2 separate regions of the Homo sapiens genome follow, and region 2 is linked to region 1. The links are contacts of gene promoters, found by promoter capture Hi-C in human tissues and cell types (Jung and others, 2019). All regions are on one chromosome and are shown on one strand. Each heading gives the region's core, a stretch centred on a gene start or on the middle of the fragment in contact. The rest is flanking DNA. Distances are from core to core; before and after follow the strand shown. Region 1 overlaps GTF3C2 (general transcription factor IIIC subunit 2). Region 2 holds the start of ZNF513 (zinc finger protein 513).

Region 1 (5,417 bases), core at 1,548-4,047:
AACCTCTGTCTCTGAAACCCAATGAAATAAAACACACACACACAGACATACACACACTCCAAAAAAGAAGAGAGAGAAAAATTTGTCTAGCATGAATCTAGGAAAGGGACACCAACTTCCTCAAAATATACTACAAAAAAGAGCTGCCAGATACTACAAAATTTAGACCAAAGTGAAGAGGCATACTTAATGTTAACATCTCTTTCTGTAAAGATTAGTCAAGGAATAAGTTTATTTAAGAATAAGTAAAAGGCCAGGCAGGATGGCTCATGCCTGTAATTCCAACACTTTGAGAGGCCAAGGAAGAAGGACTGCTTGAGGCCAGGAGTTCAAGACCAGTCTGGGCAACATAGGGAGACCTCATCTCTACAAAAAATTTTAAAAGTTAGCCGGGCATGGTGGTGCGCACCTGTAGTCCCAGCTACTTGGAAGGCTGAGACAGGAGGATTGCTTGAGCCTAGGAGTTCGAGGTTACAGTGAGCTATGATGGTGTTACCATACTCCAGCCTGGGTATGGTATTTTAAATAAAAACATTTAAAAATAATTTTCTGGCCAGGCACGATAGCTCATGCCTGTAATTCCAGCACTTTGAGAGGACAAGGCAGAAGGATGGCTTGAGTCCAGGAATTCAAGACCATCCTGGGCAACAGAGTGAGACTCCTTTGCTACAAAAAAACATGGTGGTGCACACCTGTAGTCTCAGCTACTTGGGAGGCTGAAGACTTGGGAGGCTCCTTGAGCCCAGGAGGTCGAGGCTGCAGTGAGCTGTAATCACACCACTGCACTCCAGCCTGGGCAACAAAGCAACACCGTCTCAAGTAAATAAATAAATGAATTTATTTTTTAAAAAGAATGAGTTGGCCAGGCACGGTGGCTCACACCTGTAATCCCAGCACTTTGAAAGGCTGAGGCAGGCGTATTGCCTGAGGTCAGGAGTTCGAGACCAGCCTGGCCAACATGGTGAAACCCCATCTCCACTAAAAATACAAAAATTAGCTGGGCATGGTGGCAGGCGCCTGTAATCCCAGCTACTCAGGAGGCGGAGGCAAGAGAATCAATTGAACCCGTGGGGTGGAGGTTGCAGCGAGCCGAGATCATGCCACCGTACTCCAGCCTGGGTGACAGAGTGAGACTCTGTCTTTAAAAAAAAGAATGAGTCAAAGAGTTCTCTGGTGCCCTGCTATCAATATTTCACCTGGATGGGGGTGGTGGGTAGACTATGGGACAATTAAGGAACATCCTATTATGTTAAGAAAGCTTTTCCTTTTTTTTTTTTTTTGAGATGGAGTTTCACTATCGTTGCCCAGGCTGGAGTGCAGTGGCGTGATGTCGGCTCACTGCAACCTCTGCCTCCCAGGTTCAAGCAATTCTCCTGCCTCGGCCTTCCGAGTAGCTGGGACAACAGGTGCCCGCCACCACACCCAGCTAAATTTTTGTATTTTTAGTAGAGATGGGGTTTCACCATGTTGACCAGGCTGGTCTTGGACTCCTGACCTCAGGTGATCTGCCCACCTTGGCCCCGCAAAGTGCTAGGATTACAGACTTGAGCCACTGTGCCCCGCCACTTTTTTTTTTTTTTTTTTTTTTGAGACACGCTCTTGTTCTATCACCCAGACTGGAGTGGTGCAGTGGTGTGATCACAGCTCACTGCAGCCTTGTCCTCCAGAGCTCAAGCAATCCTCCTGCCTCAGCCTCCCAAGTAGCTAGGACTATAGGCATGTATCACCATGCCTGGCTAATTTTTAAATTTTTTGTAGAGATGAGGTCTCACTACGTTGCCCAGGATGGTCTTGAATTCCTGGGCTCAAGCAATCTTTCCACCTCGGTCTCCCAAAATGTTGGGATTATAGGTGTTAGCCACCGTGCCCATTCTGATACCTTTTTTTTTTTTTTTTTTTTTTTTTTTTTTTTTTTTTTTGAGACAGAGTCTCATTCTGTAACCCAGGCTGGAGTGCAATGGTGCAATCACAGCTCACTGCAGCCTGGACCTCCCAGGCTCAAGTGATCCTCCCACCTCAGCCGCCTGAGTAGTTGGGACTACAGGCATGCACCACCATGCCTGACTAATTTTTGTATTTTTTGTAGAGACTAAGTTTCACCATGTTGCCCAGGCTGGAGTGCAGTGGCGTGATTACATACTCAAACTCCTGGACTCAAGCAATTCTCTCAACTTCGTCTCCCAAAATGCTGGGATTACAGGCATAAACCACTATGCCTTGCCTTTTTTAATTTTTAAAAATTAAAAAAAATTTTTTTTTTCTGAGTCAGGATCTCGCTCTGTCACCCAGACTAGAATGTGGTGGTGTGATCACAGCTCACTGCAGCCACTAACTCCTGGGTTCAAACAGTCCTCCCTCCCCAGCTTCCCAAATAGCCAAGACTTCAAATGTGCACCAATACGCCCAGATACGTTTTTAATTTTTTTGTGCAGATTGGGTCTTGCTATTTTGCCCAGGCTTGTCTTGAATTCCTAACCTCAAGAGATCCTCCCACCTTGGCCTCCCAAAGTGCTGGGATTACAGGTGTAAGCCACCATGTCTGGCCAAGAAACCTTTCCACATTGAAGAATTGACTAAATTGTCATGAGTCTTCATTTTCTTCAAACCCCAAAAAATTAGTTGTATAACCATGGGCCAAAGTAAACTAAGATAAATCACTGACCACCAAACCCGAAACCTAAGCAACACAGAACTCTCCAAGGGTCCAGTTTTTGGCCAGAATAACCTGCCTGTCTGTGACAAAGGGGCAGACATAGTTCAAATCCCAGGATGGGACCCCGCCCCCCACAGATCTATATATACGCCTTAAGAATAAACAATTCATCAGTCTCAGTGGAAAAGTGTGCTTATACAAATCCCATAAGAAATATAAAATAAAAGCTTCCAACTGTCTCACTTGAAGAAGCTACAGTCTAACCAGATTATAAACTATAGCAATGGCCAACCCTCTGAGGCAGGTGCTGAGGATACAAGAAAACACATGTGCTAAAGATACATTATAACACTGCCAAGGTAAATAAAGGTCAGTGAAAATCCATCTATATTATTCCTGTGATAAATAAGAAGCCCTGACAGAACTACCCCATTCAAAATTAGTCACAAGCCAAAAGGACCTATGCATATACCGAAAGAAAAGGATAGAAAGATGAAGAGTACCCTTTTGAAGAAGTGATTCAGAAAACAGAAGGAAATTTCCAACAAAAAATTCCTGCACTTTCAAAAACATCAAATGGATTGTGAAATCCAAGAGCTAGGGTTTGAACATCCCCTCCAAAACTCATGTTGAAATTTAATTCCCATTTGTAACAGTATTAAGAGGTGGGATCTTTAAGAGATGATTAGGCCACAAGGGCTCCACCCTGACCAGTCAGATCAGTGTCATTATAAAAGGGTGAGTTTAGGGCAGGACCCAGTGGCTCATGCCTGTAATCCCTGCACTTAGGGAGGCAGAGGTGGGAGGATCCCTTGAGCCCAGGAGTTTGAGACCAGCCTGGGCAACATGGCAAAACCCTGTCTCTACAGAAAAATACCAAAACAGGGCCAGGTGCAGTGGCTCACGCCTGTAATCCCAGCACTTTAGGAGGCCCGGACGGGCCAATCACGAGGTCAAGAGTTTGAGACCACCTGGCCAACATGGTGAAACCCTGTCTCTACTAAGAATACAAACATTAGCTGGGTGTGGTGCCGCGTGCCTTAATCCCAGCTACTTGGGAGGCTGACGCAGGAGAACTGCTTGAACCCGGGAGGCAGAGGTTGCAGTGAGCCAAGATAGTGCCATTGCACTCCAGCCTGGGCGACAGAGCAGGACTCCGTCTGAGGGAAAAAAAAAAAAAAAACTAGCTGGGCATGGTGGGCAGCAGGGACCTGTAGTCCCAGCCACTCAGGAATTGGAAGTGAGAAGATCACTTGAGCCTGGGAGGTGGAGGCTGCAGTGAGCAGAGATCGCGTTCCTGCACTCCAGCCTGGAGTTGAGACTCTGTCTCAAAAAACAAAAAACAAACAAAAAAACCGAAAACATGTATCATAACAATAAACACATATCATTTAAACTCATCCATTAAAAGAAAGAATAGGACCAGGTACAGGCTCATGCCTGTATTCCCAGTATGTTGGGAGGCCGAAGCAAGCAGATTGCTTGAGGCCAGGAATTTGAGACCAGCCTGGCCAACATAGCGAAACCCCATCTCTAGTAAAAATACAAAAATTAGCTGGGCATGGTGGCACAAGCCTGTGATCCCAGCTACTCAGGAGACTGAGGCACGAGAATCACTTGAGCCTGGGAGGTGAAGCCAAGATCACACCACTGCATCCCAGCCTGGGCAGACAGAGCAAGATGCTATCTCAAAAGAAAAAATAATAAAGATTTGGTTTGATTTTAATTTTGTATTTATTTATTTATTTTTGAAATGGAGTCTTGCTCTTGTCACCCAGGCTGGAGTGCAGTGGCCTGATCTCAGCTCACTGCAACCTCTGCCTCCCAGGTTCAAGTGATTCTCCTGCCTTAGCCTCCCCAGTAGCTAGGATTACAGGCGGCCGCCACCACACCCAGCTAATTTTTGTATTTTTAGTAGAGATGGGGTTTCACCATGTTGGCCAGGCTGGTCTCAAACTCCTGACCTCAAGTGATCTGCCTGCCTTGGCCTCCCAAAGTGCTGGGATTACAGGTGTGAGCCACTGTGCCCAGCCTGATTTGATTTTTTTTTTTTTTTTTTTTTGAGACAGAGTCTTGCTCTGTTGCCCAGGCTGCAGTGCAGTGGCGCGATTTCGGCTCACTGCAAGCTCCGCCTCCCGGGTTCACGCCATTCTCCTGCCTCAGCCTCCCGAGTAGCTGGGACTACAGGCGCCCGCCATCATGCCCGGCTAATTTTTTTTATTTTTAGTAGAGACGGGGTTTCACCGTGTTAGCCAGGATGGTCTCGATCTCCTGACCTCGTGATCCGCCCGCCGCGGCCTCCCAAAGTGCTGGGATTACAGGCGTGAGCCACTGCGCCCAGCCCTGATTTGATTTTAAAAGACAAATAACTATATGCTTTTCAAGAGATGCCTAAAACAAAATAACTCAAAAAGCTGAAAATACAAAGATCAACTAAAATGTACAGGGCAAAATCTAAGCAAAAACAAAGGAGGAGTTTTGATGACAATAGTAAAGTCGAATTTAGGGGGAAAACATTAAATAGGAATAAAGGGAGTACTATTTTTTTTTTTTGAGACGGAGCCTCTCTCTGTTGCCCAGGCTGGAATGCAGTGGCGTGATCTCGGCTCACTGCAACCTCTGCCTCCTGGGTTCAAGCAACTCTCCTGCCTCAGCCTCCCGAGTAGCTGGGATTACAGGCATGTGCCACCATGCCTGGCTAACTTTTGTATTTTTTAGTAGAGACGGGGTCTGGCTGTGTTGGCCAGGCTGGCCTTGAACTCCT
Region 2 (5,417 bases), core at 805-3,304, 33 kb after region 1:
GTCGTGTCAGGTTGACGAGCTGGGCTGAGGCGTAGGGGCAGCGGCCACAGCGGAACGGCTTCTCTCCGCTGTGTGTCTGCATGTGCCGCTTCAGGTGGCTCGAGTAGTGGGACACGAAGGTGCAGAGGCGGCATGAGTACAGTAGCCGTGGGGGCAGCAGGGGCCCCCCACCCGGCCCTCCTGCCCCACAACACGGCCCCTCACCTGTCGGCCCCCCACACAGCTGGCAGGCTGGGCCTGGCCTCTCACCCCTGGCCTCCCCTGGACCCCTGGCTGGCTCCTCAACTTCACTCTCCGCACTTAGTGCCCGGCCGCCCCCAGACTCATCGTCGCTCAGCCCATAGGGAAGCCCAGGCCTGGCCCCCAGAGAGTCTCCTGGTGAAATAGACATAAGAAGAGACATCAGCATAGGGTAGGATCAGGCTCCAAACTCTCCCCTTTTCACTTATGGTCTCCCCACTTGCTTGGCTCCACCCTTAGCTTTGATGATCCCTTTAGTTCCCTCCTAGGAATCAAGGTCTCCCCTGCAGTAATTCCAGAAAATTCAACATGAATTGTCTACCTCTTACACTGGACTAATCTAGTGATGGTAGAATTGACCTGTATCTAGTTTCCCTCAATGGTCAAGGATCAAGGGCTCACAGTGGATCACAGACTGAAATGAATCCATAATGAAATTAATTCTTGAGACAAGAAAGTAAAAATACGAAAGGGAGAGAGCCCCCAAGACCTTTTTCTAAGCTCTATTGCTAAGGCCCCTTTTAGTAAGGAGCTGATATAAAATAAAACCTATCTCTGAGGCAAAATTTGGAGGGAAGTGGAGACAATGAAAGTAATGCATGTAATACCACTTGCCTGCCTAAAGAACAGATATTTACATGGATCCCCTCAATGACTTTCAAAAAACATCTTGCATAAGTGGATGGGTAGTGCAGCAAATTAGGGTAGGGTGATGCTAAGATCACAGGGAAGAGGGACATGGAAGGATAAAGACAGAAACTAAAACCTCTCAATACAAAAGGAGCTTACGCTGCAGGTGAAAGGGAGTTAGATTAGACCTAAATACTGGGTTGAATGATTTACAGAGAGTTTGCTTCCCTGAACCTCTCTTAAAAGTAAATACACATAAGGAATGGGCTAGGGAGAGAGACAGGGCATTTACTTTTAATCAGTTGCTCCATGTGATTCACCCACCCTCCTATTCCTATCACCTTTGACCAGGCCTCAGAACTTCACCTCAACAAAGTGATGGAAGTGATTGGACCATTAAACAAATGAAGTCATCTAGCTCAAATGTAAACTAAACCAGCCCTCGGTTGTGGCAGGAAATGGTGTTCTGTTCACCTAACCTGCCTCCTGAAGGGCTGGGGTCTCCAGCGGCCGCTAATCCTTAACCAAGACCCGAAAACCCACCTTCCGAGTCTCTCTCGAAGCCCATGAGCTGGTCACTGTTGCCGTCGCCTTCCTCCTCTTCCTCTTCCTCCTCAAACTCCAGATCCTGGCCTAGTAGCAAATCACTCTCCAATACCAGGGCCCCGGGTCCTTCGTCGAGGGAGTCTTCAGTATCCACTGAAGAGGGGAGGGGGCTTGTGGATTCTCCCTCAGGAACCAGCCCTCGTGGACCACACTTCCCGTACTCGCTGACCCACTCTGATTCCCTTAGTGCCTCGGTGGGAAGCTAGGAGTCTGGATCGCCCACTTCATCCCTCAGGAGTCCCCCTCCACCCTGACCTGAGCCCACTCCACTGACCCCACCCCCGCTCCTCTCCCCTCAAGGCCCCTGACCCCTGACCTTTGACCCCCTCGCATTTCACGGGCTGCGGGTGGCTTTGCTTCCTTCGGGGCATCGTGACCGGCTCCAGCCCGACGCGCCTCCGGCCTGCGGCCGCCCGACCCCGCCCCTCCTATCTCGGCCCGCCTGTCTGCCCTTCCTCTCAGGGCCCGCGGGCCGCCCCCATGCAGCGGCGCGGGCCCTGGGCAGCCCCCGGCCCTGGCCCCGGCGCCCAGCTCAGGCCGCTCCCGCCGCCGCCGCCGCTTCCATTCATGGAGCCCCCTACCCCCCTACGGAGACCAGCTGGTACCTCCGTACTCGCTTCCGCTTCCGCCGCCGCAGAGACGCACGGGACGCGTAGTCCGTGGGAAGCGGCCGCGGCGGGAGCCTCAATGGCGTGACCGGGAAGTGATTGTGACGAGGCGGGGAGCAAGCCAATCAGCGGCAGCGGGGAGCCGGCCAGGGAGCAGCGCAGGAGGCGTCCTGCCCGACTCCAGGCTTCAGGCCAGCCAGACCGGTCCCAACCTGTCCCTGGGGGAACTAGATCATTTCTGGCTGCAGGAGGGGGCGAGGGGCAGCCGCGACGCCCGCCAGGCCGGCCTACCAGCAGCTCGCTCTGGGCTCTCCTATACACGCGCAGGACACACACGAGCACACGCACACACTCACATGGGGGCTCGCCACATGCTACAGATGGGACCAAGTCGGGGGCCACGGCAGCAGAAAAAAAAGGACACGATGCGTACGATTAGGTTTTGGCCTTTAGTCTGAAAAAGTGTTGATTGAAAGTGTACAACAGAGAGCGGGTGCAAGCGGCCGAGGGCCATGGAGCCGCCAATAAAAAAGAATGTCCTTAAATAAAGTTCACAGAGTAAAAACCAGAACCGCCAGTCCTTCCCTCCAACACAACAGAGCACAGGCACAGAACCGGTGATGAGCCCGAGGAGCAGAGGCGGCTGGGAAGGACAGCAGAGGCTCCCGGCTGCAGTGTGGAGGGAGAGCCCTCTTTGGAATGGGCGGAGTGAAGCCACCCAGCTCCCCCTGCACACCTCATACCCACTGCTAAGGCTAAAGGAAAAAGACAAAACTCAGTCTCAGGTCCGGAGGGCTCAGAAAACAGTCTAGGTGGGCAGGGGTCTGGATGACTGCTAGTCTCGCTTGGCCTTCTTCTTCTTGTCGCTGTTGCCATTTTCTTCAGCCCCCTCAGTAGAGAGCACCTCCTCTAGTTTTCGCTTGCCACTCTCTGGCTGGAGCTCTGCTGTGTTTCGGGGCTTGAAGCAAATGATGATGCAGGTCATGTTGTCACACCCTGTACCATCCCCAGAAGTGTCTGGTGCCAGGCACTGATCCAGCAGCTAAGAAAGGGATGGGGGTAGCTCAGCCACAGGGTTTGAACACCTTGCCAGGAATCTACAGTCCCACAAGAGGGCTGGCTTGCTGAGTCAGGGTGGTAGGAGAGGAATGGGCAAGAGGTATCACACAACGGCCCACCTGCTAGTCCATAAGGCATAAGGCTAAGTCAGGGAAATGACAGAAGGTGGAACTTTGGAGTCGGGGTTTAGCGTCTGTCAGCAATTACTGATAATGCTCCCAGATTGCCGACTTAGCTCAGATTAAAAGAGTGAACCCTGGCTGTGCAGACCAGACACCCTCTCTTCTCCACCCTGGTACTCACCTCTTCCACAATGGATGACAATAACCGAAGCTCCCCATTTTCATCACGCTGGCTGATCTTTGATTGAATGAAATCTACAACTTCCTGGCTGCTCATCACATTCCTGGGGTCAAGAACAACAGTCAGAATCTTCCAGTCTCACTAAGGCAGCGTAGAGGAGTATGGACAGAGGTGGTGGCCCAGGCCAGTGTAAATAACTACAGAAATTCTCAGCTCTGCCTTAGTCTGGGTGCTCTTCACCCACCAAGAGGCCTAGGTCTGCCTAGGCTCTAATCCTAGAGGTGCCCTGAGTCCTATAAGAGAAGACATGCTGCAGAAAGGGGAATTTAGGGCATTCTGCCAGTGCTCACCAGATGCCATCACAGGCAATGACCATGAATTCATGGTCGTCAGTGAGAGTCAGCACCTTGATGTCAGGAAGGGCTGAAATCATCTGTTCCTCAGGTGGCAGGTTCTTGTTTCTCTTATAGAAGTGGTCCCCTGGAGTAAAGGAATGGTTGATGAGCAGTTTGGATACTTCCCACAGACTTGTGTTTGTGGCAGGTCAAACCTTGCCATTCATTTCCCTTCTTTACAAAGTTCCATAATCTAGTGGAATGGGGAACTGAGTCCTAAGTCCTAGTTTTTCTAGTTTCAACCCTGCCACCAGACTGCTGAACCTTAAGAAAGTCACTCACTGGTCTTTTTATTTTAAGTCTTTTTTGTTTTTTTTTTTTTGAGACGGAGTTTCACTCTTGTAGCCCAGGCTGGAGTGTAATGGCACGATCTCGGCTCACTACAACCTCCGCCTCCCGGATTCAAGCGGTTCTCCTGCCTCAGCCTCCTGAGTAGCTGGGATTACAGGCTTGCACTACCATGCCCAGCTAATTTTTGTATTTTTTTTTTTTTTTAGTAGAGATGGGGTTTCACCATGTTGGCCAGGCTGGCCTCGAACTCCTGACCTCAGGCGATCCACCAGCCTCAGCCTCCCAAAGTGCTGGGATTACAGGCGTGAGCCACCACGCCCGGCACTCACAGGTCTTTTTCATCATTCAAATGTTACATAAGATGGGTATAATGATACCTATGTATAATGATACCTCTACCCATCTTAGTTATTTCACAGAAATATAAGAACAGAGGTAGTAGATATTAAAGTGCTTTGAAAGGCACAAGCACTAGGAAGATTAAAGTTTGCTACTAGGTAGTCTGGGACAGAGAGAAAGACCCTAGAAGTCTTTCCCAGTTTCTTGGCCCTTACCAATGGCTCTGGAGAGGTTGAGGCCCCCGTTGACTCGCCCATCCATGGTGACCTTGCCACCAGCATTCTTGATGCGTGCTAGTTCTACTTCATCCTCTGGTTTGTGATCATAGGACATGTCTAAAGCTTTGCCAGCCTCAGATACCACACAGCGAGAGTCTCCTGCGTTGGCTACAATCAACTGCTTCCCTCGTATCAGGGCCACCACCGCTGTTGTACCACTGTCAGAGCCAGGCTTAAGAGGAAGAAAAGGAGCATCATGGGGGCTTCTGAACATGCGTTCCTCACTGATGTGCTCCTGATCGTTCACCTATGCTTGCTTTCACTGGGACCCCCAAAAGAGCTTTAACAAACAGGAGAAGCACACATTTCATCTTTCTAGAGACAGCAGCACACTCCCTCTCCCTTGTTTTTAGATAATTCAACCCCAAAGGCTTACCATCTCATTCCCCTTGCAGAATAAATCCCCATGACTATTACTTCCATCCTAAAGTATCAGGGGGATCCCCTGTCTCAAAATCAAAATTAGGGGATTCACACCTGCCTTGTGGCTTTTCAAGACTCATTGCTCCCCTTCCCCACACACCTCCTCTTTGCCTTCCATCCCTGGCACCATCATCTCTTCTTCTTCTTCTTCATCGTCCTCTTCAGCCTCCTCGGTGTCATCCTCATCTTCCTCATTCTCTGCCTCCTCACTGCTGTAGCCATCCTCTTCCTCGCTGCATTCCTGC

What was found. Contacts are between HindIII fragments. The study calls those that stand out against the background at their distance.
Region 2: a contact is called between the fragment with the promoter of ZNF513 here and a fragment that was not itself captured in region 1, in 12 of the 25 tissues and cell types used here (H1 embryonic stem cells, IMR-90 fibroblasts, bladder and 9 more).

The regions. Positions count from the first base shown.
Region 1 is chr2:27,344,451-27,349,867 of GRCh38, forward strand. The region is part of intron 1 of GTF3C2 (general transcription factor IIIC subunit 2); the gene reads right to left. Among named protein-coding and RNA genes, the nearest start is that of GTF3C2, 9.6 kb to the right of the region's middle. The HindIII fragment of the contact is 7,211 bases long and covers 1-5,417 here.
Region 2 is chr2:27,378,680-27,384,096 of GRCh38, forward strand. ZNF513 (zinc finger protein 513) reads right to left here and starts at 2,055. Exons shown (of 4, transcript NM_144631.6): 1 at 1,793-2,055; 2 at 1,414-1,569; 3 at 1-375. The coding sequence starts at 1,847. It overlaps PPM1G (protein phosphatase, Mg2+/Mn2+ dependent 1G), which reads right to left. Exons shown (of 10, transcript NM_177983.3): 6 at 5,273-5,413; 7 at 4,687-4,921; 8 at 3,797-3,926; 9 at 3,447-3,549; 10 at 2,520-3,126. The coding sequence ends at 2,920. RefSeq lists an enhancer at 1-667 and a silencer at 1,808-2,027. The HindIII fragment of the contact is 10,400 bases long and covers 1-5,338 here.